Regions from separate parts of the Homo sapiens genome. Here all the other regions are linked to region 3. Evidence: promoter capture Hi-C in 16 types of primary human blood cells and fetal thymus (Javierre and others, 2016). All regions are on one chromosome and are shown on one strand. The core of a region is centred on a gene start or on the middle of the fragment in contact, and the rest is flanking DNA. Distances in the headings are between cores, read along the strand shown. Region 1 holds the start of FBL (fibrillarin). Region 2 holds the start of PSMC4 (proteasome 26S subunit, ATPase 4). Region 3 holds the start of EIF3K (eukaryotic translation initiation factor 3 subunit K).

Evidence for each region. Contacts are between HindIII fragments. The CHiCAGO score rates a contact against its expected background, and 5 or more counts as called.
Region 1: a contact is called between the fragment with the promoter of FBL here and the fragment with the promoter of EIF3K in region 3, in 1 of 17 cell types (fetal thymus). The highest score is 5.3, in fetal thymus.
Region 2: the fragment with the promoter of PSMC4 here is called in contact with the fragment with the promoter of EIF3K in region 3 in 1 of 17 cell types (fetal thymus); the score reaches 6.8 in fetal thymus.

Annotation. Positions count from the first base shown.
Region 1 is chr19:39,844,558-39,847,813 of GRCh38, reverse strand. FBL (fibrillarin) reads left to right here and starts at 1,435. Exons shown (of 9, transcript NM_001436.4): 1 at 1,435-1,523. The coding sequence starts at 1,514. RefSeq lists an enhancer at 1,890-2,630. The HindIII fragment of the contact is 4,240 bases long and covers 1-3,100 here.
Region 2 is chr19:39,969,477-39,972,739 of GRCh38, reverse strand. It overlaps PSMC4 (proteasome 26S subunit, ATPase 4), which reads right to left and starts at 1,575. Exons shown (of 11, transcript NM_006503.4): 1 at 1,502-1,575; 2 at 496-594; 3 at 185-371. The coding sequence starts at 1,537. LOC124904720 (a long non-coding RNA gene) reads left to right here and starts at 1,769. Exons shown (of 3, transcript XR_007067260.1): 1 at 1,769-1,860; 2 at 2,304-2,386. RefSeq lists enhancers at 612-1,291, 1,316-1,705, 2,206-2,255. The HindIII fragment of the contact is 1,611 bases long and covers 649-2,259 here.
Region 3 is chr19:38,617,938-38,621,436 of GRCh38, reverse strand. It overlaps EIF3K (eukaryotic translation initiation factor 3 subunit K), which reads right to left and starts at 2,249. Exons shown (of 8, transcript NM_013234.4): 1 at 2,110-2,249; 2 at 1,002-1,100. The coding sequence starts at 2,168. MAP4K1 (mitogen-activated protein kinase kinase kinase kinase 1) reads left to right here and starts at 3,484. Exons shown (of 31, transcript NM_001042600.3): 1 at 3,484-3,499. RefSeq lists an enhancer at 2,911-2,960. The HindIII fragment of the contact is 6,969 bases long and covers 1-2,481 here.

The DNA.
Region 1 (3,256 bases), core at 186-2,685, 1.2 Mb before region 3:
GTTCTGAAAAGTTTAAGCAGATTTTCCATCATAATATCTAAACAATCTTTCAGGAATGTTTCTGTGCAAATTGGTGGCATTCCACAGCTGGAACACTGTACACAGAGAACTCACAACGGTATGAGGCCATCCATTCATTCAACAAACATTTACTGGGCACCCAGAGGGCTGTCCTAGGCCTAGAGTGATAGAGCAGTGAATGGAACAGAGTCAACATCTAGGCTCTGGACTGGTAGGTTCTTCTGGAGTTTTTCGGTAACTTCTCATAACAGCAGTTGTCTTGCTTTGCAGAATGAATATAGGGATGGATACTGATATTACACAATTACAAAGCCCAAAATTCTTAATACTTAAGCAGAATCTGTTGACCCCTGACGCCGCTCTCTGCCCCCACTCTGATCTGTCCATCCTTTTCTTCTGATTCACGGCAGCAGCCAGTCCTTGGTTTTCCTGCTTTCACCCTCACTCCTGCAGTCTGCTTCCCACATGCAGCCAGAGGGACCTGTGTCAGATCACATTCCTTCTCTGCTTGGAACCCTTCCATGGTTCCATCTTACTGCCTAAGTCCTCACTATGTCCCACAAAGCTCCGCACAATCTGCCCTTGTTAGCTACCCGCCCTTATCTCCTCTTACTCTCCACCTTGCTCACTTTGCCCCACCCACCCTCCTCATTGTCTCTCCAACTTCCCATATCTTTCCTTCCTCAGGGCCTCTGCATCTGCAGATCTTTTCCCTGCCTGGAACTCTCTTCCCCTAGATAGGTGCATGCCTCACTCCTCACTTCCTTCAGCCCTTTAGCTCAAAAGTCTCCTGATGCATTCCTTGACCACCGTGCCAAAAAAACAAAAATCATTTGCCCTCCAAAATCTCTATCCCCTTTCCCTGCTGTTATTTTCTCCAAAGCACTTATCGCTTTCAAACATTCAACATGTTTGGTGTCTATTTCCTCCATTAAAAAGATGAACTCCAGGAGAGTGGAGATTTTTATGTCTCGTACACCGCTGTATTCCCAGCTCCTAGAACAGCACCTGGTACACACGAGGTGCACTGTAAATGTTTTTCGGATGTTTGAATGGAAGCCCAGAGTCGGTCACTGTTCTTGGGGCTGGAAATGTATTGGGGAAGCCTTTTTGGGTGTACAGGGGCCAGAGGGATTTAGCTAGGAATACAAAAGAGGGCACAGCCCGTGCGAAGGCTATGAGCCCTGATTATTGGGGTGCTCGCATTGGGGAAGAGGAAACCGGAAGCGAGTTTAGGGCGACCGCTGCACAGGCAAAGGCTGGGAAGGCAGAGAGCGAGGGCAGCGGGTTGCGTGTCGACAGGCTCGAGAATCCAGGCTCACTGCGCGTGCGCCGAGCTCCGGGCGGGGAAGGGGCCCGGGGGCGGGACTACGGGGTGGCGTCACGCAGCGCACGTCGCCGCGCGCCTGCGCTCTTTTCCACGTGCGAAAGCCCCGGACTCGTGGAGTTGTGAACGCCGCGGACTCCGGAGCCGCACAAACCAGGGCTCGCCATGAAGCCAGGTCAGGCTGGGGTGAGGGTCCGGGGTCAGGGACGGAGGCCGGGCGGGAATCCGGGTGCCAGGCCAGAATCGGAGGGGTGGGGCCTTGGCCTGGGGGCAGGGGTTCTGAGCACGGGTTCCAGTCTCCTGTGGGAAGGGGGATTCTGATTCCAGCAGGTCTAGGGGTTTGTGACTGGCTTCAGAGGTCACGGTCGTGAGTCGAAGAAGGCCGTGGGCCTGGCATTGGGGGTGTTGACGTGGGGTTCGTCTCATTGAGGCCGTCTAATAGGGATTTTGGATATTGGGCAGGAGGCGGCACTCAAGGGTCTTGGGCTAGAGTTTGGATTCAGGCATCTGGAGTCTTGGATCGCTGGGCGTGTTTTGGGAATCAGGCTTGGGTCGGAGATGGAGAGTTCCTGACCTTGGGTCCTGGAGCTGTGTGTGGGAAGCCCCCATTTGCCTTCCCTGTCGCTGCCACCACCACCATCCCCTTATCCCGCATCCCAGCTTTTCCGAGTGGGCCGGAGTGGATGAGGACTCCCCGGTTGGCCGTGTGCGGCGCTCTTCGGCTCACTTTCCCGCCTTCTGCACTTACAGTGGGGCGGATCCCCGGGGATGGAGTGGAGATTTGGGGATTAAGATTTCCACCTCCGGGACGAGACTTAACAAGCTCGGCATTAGTCTGGGGTGGTGGGGCGGGTGGTTGTCACAGGAGGTAAGTAGTTTTATTCTTAAGATTTTCCACTAGATTCTGCTGAAACCACTCCCTTCATGGTGGAATGATGAGGGGGTCCTGGCTTTGACAGCAGAAGGGCCTCAGTTCAGTGTGTCAGCTCTTGCTCAGCTTCTTAGCCTGCTGTGTGAACTTGGGCAAGTGGCTTTACCTCTCTGAGCCTCTGTTTTCTCATCAATAAAATGGCGCCAGTTAGGATTAAGCGACGTTAAAAAAAATAGCACAGTGCTTGACATATAATAGTATTAGCTCTAATTGTTACCTTTATCTTTCTCAAAGAGAACAACATTAGAATCCTTCTCGGTGGTGCCTGAGCACTTCCTCCATCTGGCCTGCCCAACCCGCACTCATCTGTGTGAGAACTTGCTTCATTGAGTTTGGAGAATTTCCACCATGGCCCAAAGGGTCTGTTTTCCTAGTACAGGCTTTCTTTTTCTTTTGTGTGTGTGTTTGTGTGGAGAGATGGGGGTCACCTGGCAGGAGATTTGTGGATCTGTGCCCTTCTCCCAAGTTCCCTTTCTCTTCCGTGTTTGGGGATCTCTTGATGAAGTGGGGTGGGGGATTGTAGGCCAGGTATGCTGAGATCCTGGCTTGCCTGCAGGCATTCTGGTCTGTGATTCCCTCATAAATGGAGGATACCCGTTCTTCCAACCTTCCTCCATGTGTGGTAGAATGTGAAGTTGTAAAAGTTGTCAGGTGTTAGCTCTTTAGTAAGGATTTTAGCCTGAGTGAGAAAAGAACCCTTTGGGAGATTTTTGAGCAGGGGCGTGGTGCAGTCTGACATTTTTAAAAGGGATTCTTTTTGCTTCGATGTGTGAAAGACCTCAGGGTGGCAAAAGTGGAAGCAGGCACATTGGTGGGAAGCTTGTTGCTGTAATCTAGGAGATGGTGTGGTGGACCAGGATGGGAGCAGTGGACATGCTGACAGTTTTACATGCTTTTGAAGACAGAACCAACAGATTGTATGTGGGTGTGTGATCGGAGTCAAGGATAACCAAGGGTTTGGGGGTGTGTAACTGGAA
Region 2 (3,263 bases), core at 326-2,825, 1.4 Mb before region 3:
AACATAGATATACATATATATATGTGTATATATATATATATGTATGTATTTCTACCTTTCGATCAGTCAAAATACTCTGAAGAACATTGCACTGCACTGCCCTGCCTTGTTTGCTGCTGCCTAGCACATGGTAGGAAATAGTTGTTAAGTGGACAGATGAATGAATGAGGTGTCCTTAGCACACCTGTGGTAGAGCCCACGATGGCTGTATTCTGATCCACAGCCTCCAGAAATTGTCCGATGACCAGCGGGATGCTTTGGATTCGCTTCACCTCCTCCTGGGCATGGAGAAATTCCTTTTTCAGGTTCTTTTGCTCATCTTTGATGTATTCCTCCTGCACCTCCAGGAACTCCAGCTCTTGCTGCAGCTTCTGCGAGCAGAGAGGGGACAGAAGGGGATGGCTCCAGACTTGCTGATCCAGAGAGTGGTGGAAAGTGGGGAAGAGTATGAGATGTCAGGTCCTGTGCAAGGTCTGGGTTGGGGGTCGAATGTACCTTGTAGCGGCTGTACAGGTCCTCCAGGTCCTCAGGCTCAGGGCCCAGGAAGGACAGGCCGGTCTGGGGCCGGGACACGGACAGTGCTGGGATCTCATCCTAGACGAAAGGGGATAACTCACATTGGAAGAAGACAGTCCTCTCATGAAAGCTTCCCAACTTCACTAATGTTTGTTCCCCTCCCCACTTCACCCTGATGTCACTTAGCCCCTAACAGACCCCTGATATCTTAAGACCCTCTAAATAGATCCTGGAAACCTTTTGGCCACCTAAACAAGCTCTTTATGTCAACTTGCCCCTCAAACAGATCTTATGTTATCATATACCACTCATAACATGTCCCCAGTGTCACACAACCCCCAACTAGGATCTAAACGTCACATCAACTCCTTATCAGACCCAAATGCCACCCAATCCCCTTCAAGAGGTTCCTAATGTCACATGGCTCTCCTAGATAGGCTGTTAAAGTGACTGCGCCTTCAACGAGTCCCAACATTCCCCAGTTTCCCCTCAAAGATCCCTTATGTCACAGTCTCCTAACTCACCTTAGACCTAAATATCACTCAGGCAAGCCACAGATAATACTTAACTACCCGCCCCATTACCCCCATCAGCAAAGCCCTGAACATCAGTCAGCCCCGCAGCCCAGACCCGGGGATCACTCGGCCGCACGGCGGGATCCCATATATCACTCACCGCCTGACCCAATCCCAACGCCGGGCCACCGACCTCACTAAGCACTACCGGCCAGGGTTCGAAATCAATCCGTCTCAAAGACCCACTAACGTCACTCACTCCCCCAGCCCCGCTTTCTGAGCCTTACCTCCTACCATCACTCGGCCACCCAGACAGGCCTTCGAATGGCACAAAGCTCTCCACCGAGGCCTCTAAAATAACCCCAACCTGGGCCGGGGTCCTGGAAGCCATTCCTCCCCCCACTCAGGTCTGGCTTCACCCTCTCCCCGCGAGCCCGGCCCGGACTAAAAAGCCCAAGTCCCCACTGTACCTGAGCCTTCTCCACCAAGATGCCTATCTCCTCCATAGTGACCAAGCCGGCCTCTGTGTGGCCTGGGATGATCTGTCACCGCTTCCGCTGACGACAACGGAAGTCCCTGGCTGAGGAGGCTTCTGGGAAGTGTAGTTTAAGTTACGGCTGAGAGGTGCTGGAAGGGCAGGATAGGACGAAGGGCTGGTCTGGGCTCCGCCCTCAACATAAGCTCATGCGCTGTCCGTACCCGCAGGCGCGAGGGCGGGACGGGAGCTGTGGGCGTGCGCAGTATCACGCGGTGGCGCCATCTCGCCCTGCCGTGGAGGGCTGGGGGTTCTCTCCGGGAGGTGGCGCAGCCCCGTTGCTCTTTCAACGGAGTAAGTTCGCAGAGCTCTGGCACGGACAGTCTGGCGGCCAACTGCTCTTCGCTTTCTAGTGTCTGGGCTGGAGGGTCCTTGAGCTGGGTTCCACAGAAGGGATTGATCGTACGGGCGGGTAAGGTCTCCACGTGGCGCTGATCCAAAGATTGTGCGCCGCGCGGGCGTGGGAAGATCCGAGCTGCCCCTGAAGGTGACATTTCATACTGGGCTTTACCCCGGGATTGAGGAGCCCCGAGCCCGCAGTGAGCAACCAATCGAGTAGAACCCACGCGTCTGGGCTGGGGAAAAGGAGGCAGCGAGTGCCCAGAAGTTGGGTAGCACAGGAGATCCATAGACCTTAGTTCTGTATCCCAGGTTTCCGCCTTACAGATCTATGCCAGGTCCTGCGCTTAAGCTTTACAGGCATCATCGTCGCAAGTATTATGTTTCCTCATTTATAGAGAAGGAGACAAGCTCAGAGCCACGAAGCCACCAGCCACAGTCAACAATGTGCCGAAGGGACAAAGCATAGATTGGGACCCAGGTCTGTCTGTCCCCAAAGCCTGTACTCTTGGCCCCAGGGAAACACTGCTACCCTTCACACCAGCTACAATTTTTGTTAAGTAAACCTTTTATTGAAGTTAAATAAAGAGAAGAGCACAAATCATTACAGCTCGACAAAATTACACAAAGTGAACATGCCCATACAACCTGAATCCAGATCGCAAAACCAAACAGTAGAAGCCTCATGTGCTCCCCTTTCCCCCATCCCTTCTTCTCCCCCCTCCACTCCCCGCCCCGAGACGGAGTCTCACTCTGTTGCCCAGGCTAATATTTGTATTTTTAGTAGAGACAGGGTTTCACCATGTTGGCCAGGCCGGTCACAAACTCCTGACCTCAAGTGATCTGCCTGCCTTGGCCTCCCAAAGTGCTGGGATTATAGGCGTGAGCCACCACATCCGGCCTCCCGATCCCTTCTAAAGGTTATCATTCATCTGTTTTTTTCTTTTTTTTTTAAGAGCTAGAGTCTCTGTCGCCCAGGCTGGAGTGCAGTGGCACGATCATAGCTCACTAGAGTCTCCAACTGCTGGCCTCAAGCTATCCTCTCTCCTCAGCCTCTGAAAGCACTGGGATTACAGGCATGACCCACCCCATGTAGCCTTTAAAAATATATCTTTTGAAAGAGATTCTTGCTCTGTTGCCCAGGCTGGAGTGCAGTGGTGAGATCACTACTCACTCCAGGTTCAACCTCCCAGACTCAAGCAATCCTATACCTCAGCTTCCCAAGCACCTGGAACTACAGGCGTGTGCCACCACGCCTTGCTAATTTTAAAATGTTTTTTGTAGAGATAGGGTTTCGCTGTGTTGCCCAGGCTGGTCACGAACTCCTGGACTCAGATGATCCTCCCACTTCAGCCTTC
Region 3 (3,499 bases), core at 1,000-3,499:
TGTAATTAACCTTTATTTATTTTTGAGACAGGGTCTCACTCTGTCGCCCAAGCTGGAGTGCAGTGGTATGATCTTGGCTCACTGCAACCTCTGCCTCCCAGGCTCAAAAAATTCTCCTGCCTCAGCCTCCCAAGGAGCTGGGACTACAGCCATGCGCCACTGGGCCCAGCTAATTTTTGTAGAGACAGGGTTGTGCCATGTCACCCAAATTGGTAATTCTTTTTTTTTTTTTTTTTTTTAAAAAGAGGGGTCTCACTCTGTCCCCCAGGCTGGAGTGCAGTGGCACTATCATGGCTCACTGCACCTTAATCTTCCAGGCTTAAGCGATCCTTCCACCTCAGCCTCTCAAGTAGCTGGAACTACAGCCACACACCGCTACATTAATTTTTAAATTTTTTCGTAGGGTTGGGTCTCGCTATGTTGCCATGGATGGTCTCGAACTCTTTGGCTCAAGTGAGTCTCTCGCCTCAGCCTCCCAAAGTGCTGGGATTACAGGCATGAGCCCCTGCGGCCACCCTAATTGATTTTTTATTATTATTTTTGAGACGGAGTTTCGGTCTTGTTGCCCAGGCTGGAGTGCAATGGCGCGATCTTGGTTCACCACAATCTCCGCCTCCTGGGTTCAAGCAATTCTCCTGCCTCAGCCTCCCGAGTAGCTGGGATTACAGGCATGTGGCACCACGCCTGGCTAATTTGGTATTTTTTAGTAAAGATGGGGTTTCTCCGTGTTGGCCAGGCTGGTCTCAAACTCCCTACCTCAGGTGATCCGCCTGCCTCATCCTCCCAAAGTGCTGGGATAACAGGCGTGAGTCACCGCGCCCGGCAATTGATTTTTCAAAAACCATCCCTCCTCCTGTCCCAACTTCCTTGGCTTCCTAGTCTTGCACACCAAGAGATGCTGCATTGTTCAGGATACTACCAGCCACCCCCTTGCCCTGTACTGGGAGTGGCACCCTGCTAGTTGCTGCAATGGGAGTGTAGACAGAGAGCTAGACACTTACAGCTTCAGGACAGCCAGGTTGGCTTCCAGATCATAGGCATTTTCCTTGGCCTGCGTCTCTACATAGCGCTCCAGGGTGGCCAGGTTCTCAGGATTGTACCTAAAGGAGAATCAAGATAGGTGAGCACAGAGGAGACAGAAGCTGAGGCCAGCCACCTTATGGAGCAAGGGGCCACTGTAACCTGCTCCTCCCGCCCTTCCCCTCTAAATCTGGCACTGGCCACTTGCTCTATCCAGGTAGTGAATTATGTCCAGTATAATCTCTAGTAAAACTTATTCTTATCCCAGACCTCTCGCCTAAGCTCTAAACTCCACTGGAGCCCTGGCTCTTCCCTAGGATGCCTCCTCAACCTCTGAGCCAGTCAGTCACTGCAGCTTGTACACCTGGCCTCCTGAATGTCTCTGCTACTCACCCCTTCCTCCCCTGTTCAGGCCTCCACCCTGATCCAGCCCCATCCTCTCCTGCCTACCTCGCTGCCTACTTCCTCCATGTCCACCTGAACACTCTGGCCTTTGCTTCCCCCATTTCAGTTCTAATCTCTCCCGGCTATCGCTGTCTGCTGTCAGGTTTGTCTCCCTTATGGAAAGGGAACTCAGACCGTGAAGGCATGATCTGCCGCTGTCTGATTCGCCTGTGGTTCCCAGCATTGCCTAGCACTGACAGTTTATTTCAGTAAACGTGTGGAGAATGAATGACTTATAGAGCAGAGAAGGGAGAGATTAAGAGGCACTCAAAGGAGGCGGAGCAGAGAAGGAAACCTTAAGGCAATTTACGAAGAGACTGAGTGGTACCAAGATTCTCTCGCTTCTAGGCCTTTGCAGTGCTTTTGTTTCTTTCTTTTAGAGACGGGGTTTGGCTGTTGCCCAGGCTGGTCTCTAACTCCTGGGCTCAGGCGACCCACCTACCTCGGCCTCCCAAAGTGCTAGGATCACAGGCGTGAGCCACTACCCCCAGCTCAGTGCCGTTTCTTTAAGCATCTCCTCCTCCAGGAGGATAGAGAAACCCCACCCCGCGGCAAGCCCAGGACCCTGAACACCCCTTGCTGTCTCCGGAAAACCCTCTCCTCCGCCCCGCTTGGCCAGAGCGCTTCCTCCAACCGGGCTCAGACCTGTCGATACCCTTGAGCAACTTGCCCACGTTGGCTCTCATCTGCTCAAACATCGCCATGACTTCTGTCGCCTTCCACAACCAGGGCTGGAGGCTAACACTGACCCGGCACGGCGTCCTCAAGGACGGGAACAGGAAGAGGTGGTGGAAACGGAAACGACGTCGTTGTTGTCGCTCCAGCTCCTTGGGTGCGGTAAAGGGAAAGGCTCTAGCAGCAGCCGCCACGCTTTCCGGCTGCCACGTGACTTCTTCCTCGCAGGCGCAATTGGCGCGTGCGCATTCGCGCCACTCAAGCTGGACAGACAGCGTGAGAAAAATCTTACTGGATCCCAGTGCGCAGGCGCCTCTCGTGGCGAGGGGGCGGGGCTAAGCTTTTCCCGGGCCTCACAGACCCAGTTCCAGTGCCGGTAGCGCGGGAGCGTGCGCGCGCGAACTCACCGGGAAGCACCCGGAGCTCTGGCGGCGTGCGCGCGCGTTGTATTGCGCGCGGCCATGAGGCCACGGAGCTCTGCGGGAATGCACGCAGCAGCCTTACGTTTAGGCCATGGCCAAGTTCCGAGGGAGGTGTTCTGAGGTCCCTCTTGCCACAGGCCTGGGCGCCTGGTGCAGGATCCTGAGCTCTCCAGTTTCAAGTCTCAGCCCTTGGTCCCCAGCTCCAGGAGGAGGGTCCCACAAAGCTACTGTGCTCTGCCGGGCAGGGGCTGGGGTGAGGGCTCCTGGACTTCGCCGGATCGCGCCCCGTCTCCATTAGGTTCCGGTCTTGGAGCTGAGGGCGAGCGTCCCATTTGTACTGCCATGAATTATATATTATGTATAGGTTTTGTACACTGCAGGCCTACAAAATGCAGTTATGTGCCATGCATGTGGAGGTATATGTCCTGGGTACATCCACGTGTGTACTGTGCACACAGGTATCCAGGCAGATGCACGTCTACACGCCTGCGCAGTGCAGAGGAGGTAACCCAAGTGCATGTATGTGACAGGTGAACAGGCATGTACACTGCATAGCCATCCCTTTGCAGACCTGCCGCCTTCGGGTTGTGGCCAAACCTTCAAGCACCCAGCAGAGGTTTAGACACTACCTAGGAGACGGGGGCGGGGGTTCTAAGGCACCCCCCTCCAACCCAGTTACGATTAAGATCATTTGCATCACATTTACATCCAGCCCTGGGCCTTGGAGGTTGAGGGTGGTCCCTTGGGTCCCAAGACAAGCTGCCCCTCAGAGGCTCTCAGAGCCCAGGGGACGGGGGGGTGGAGCCCGTTGCACAGTCGTGCAGTGCAGCTGGGGCAGGAAGCGAGAGTGAGGAGGGGGGAGGCCACAGCCCGCGGAGGCAAGGCGGGTGCAGGGCTTCTGGGGACGGAGGGAGGTGCCAGAAGTTGAGCCCTGAGGC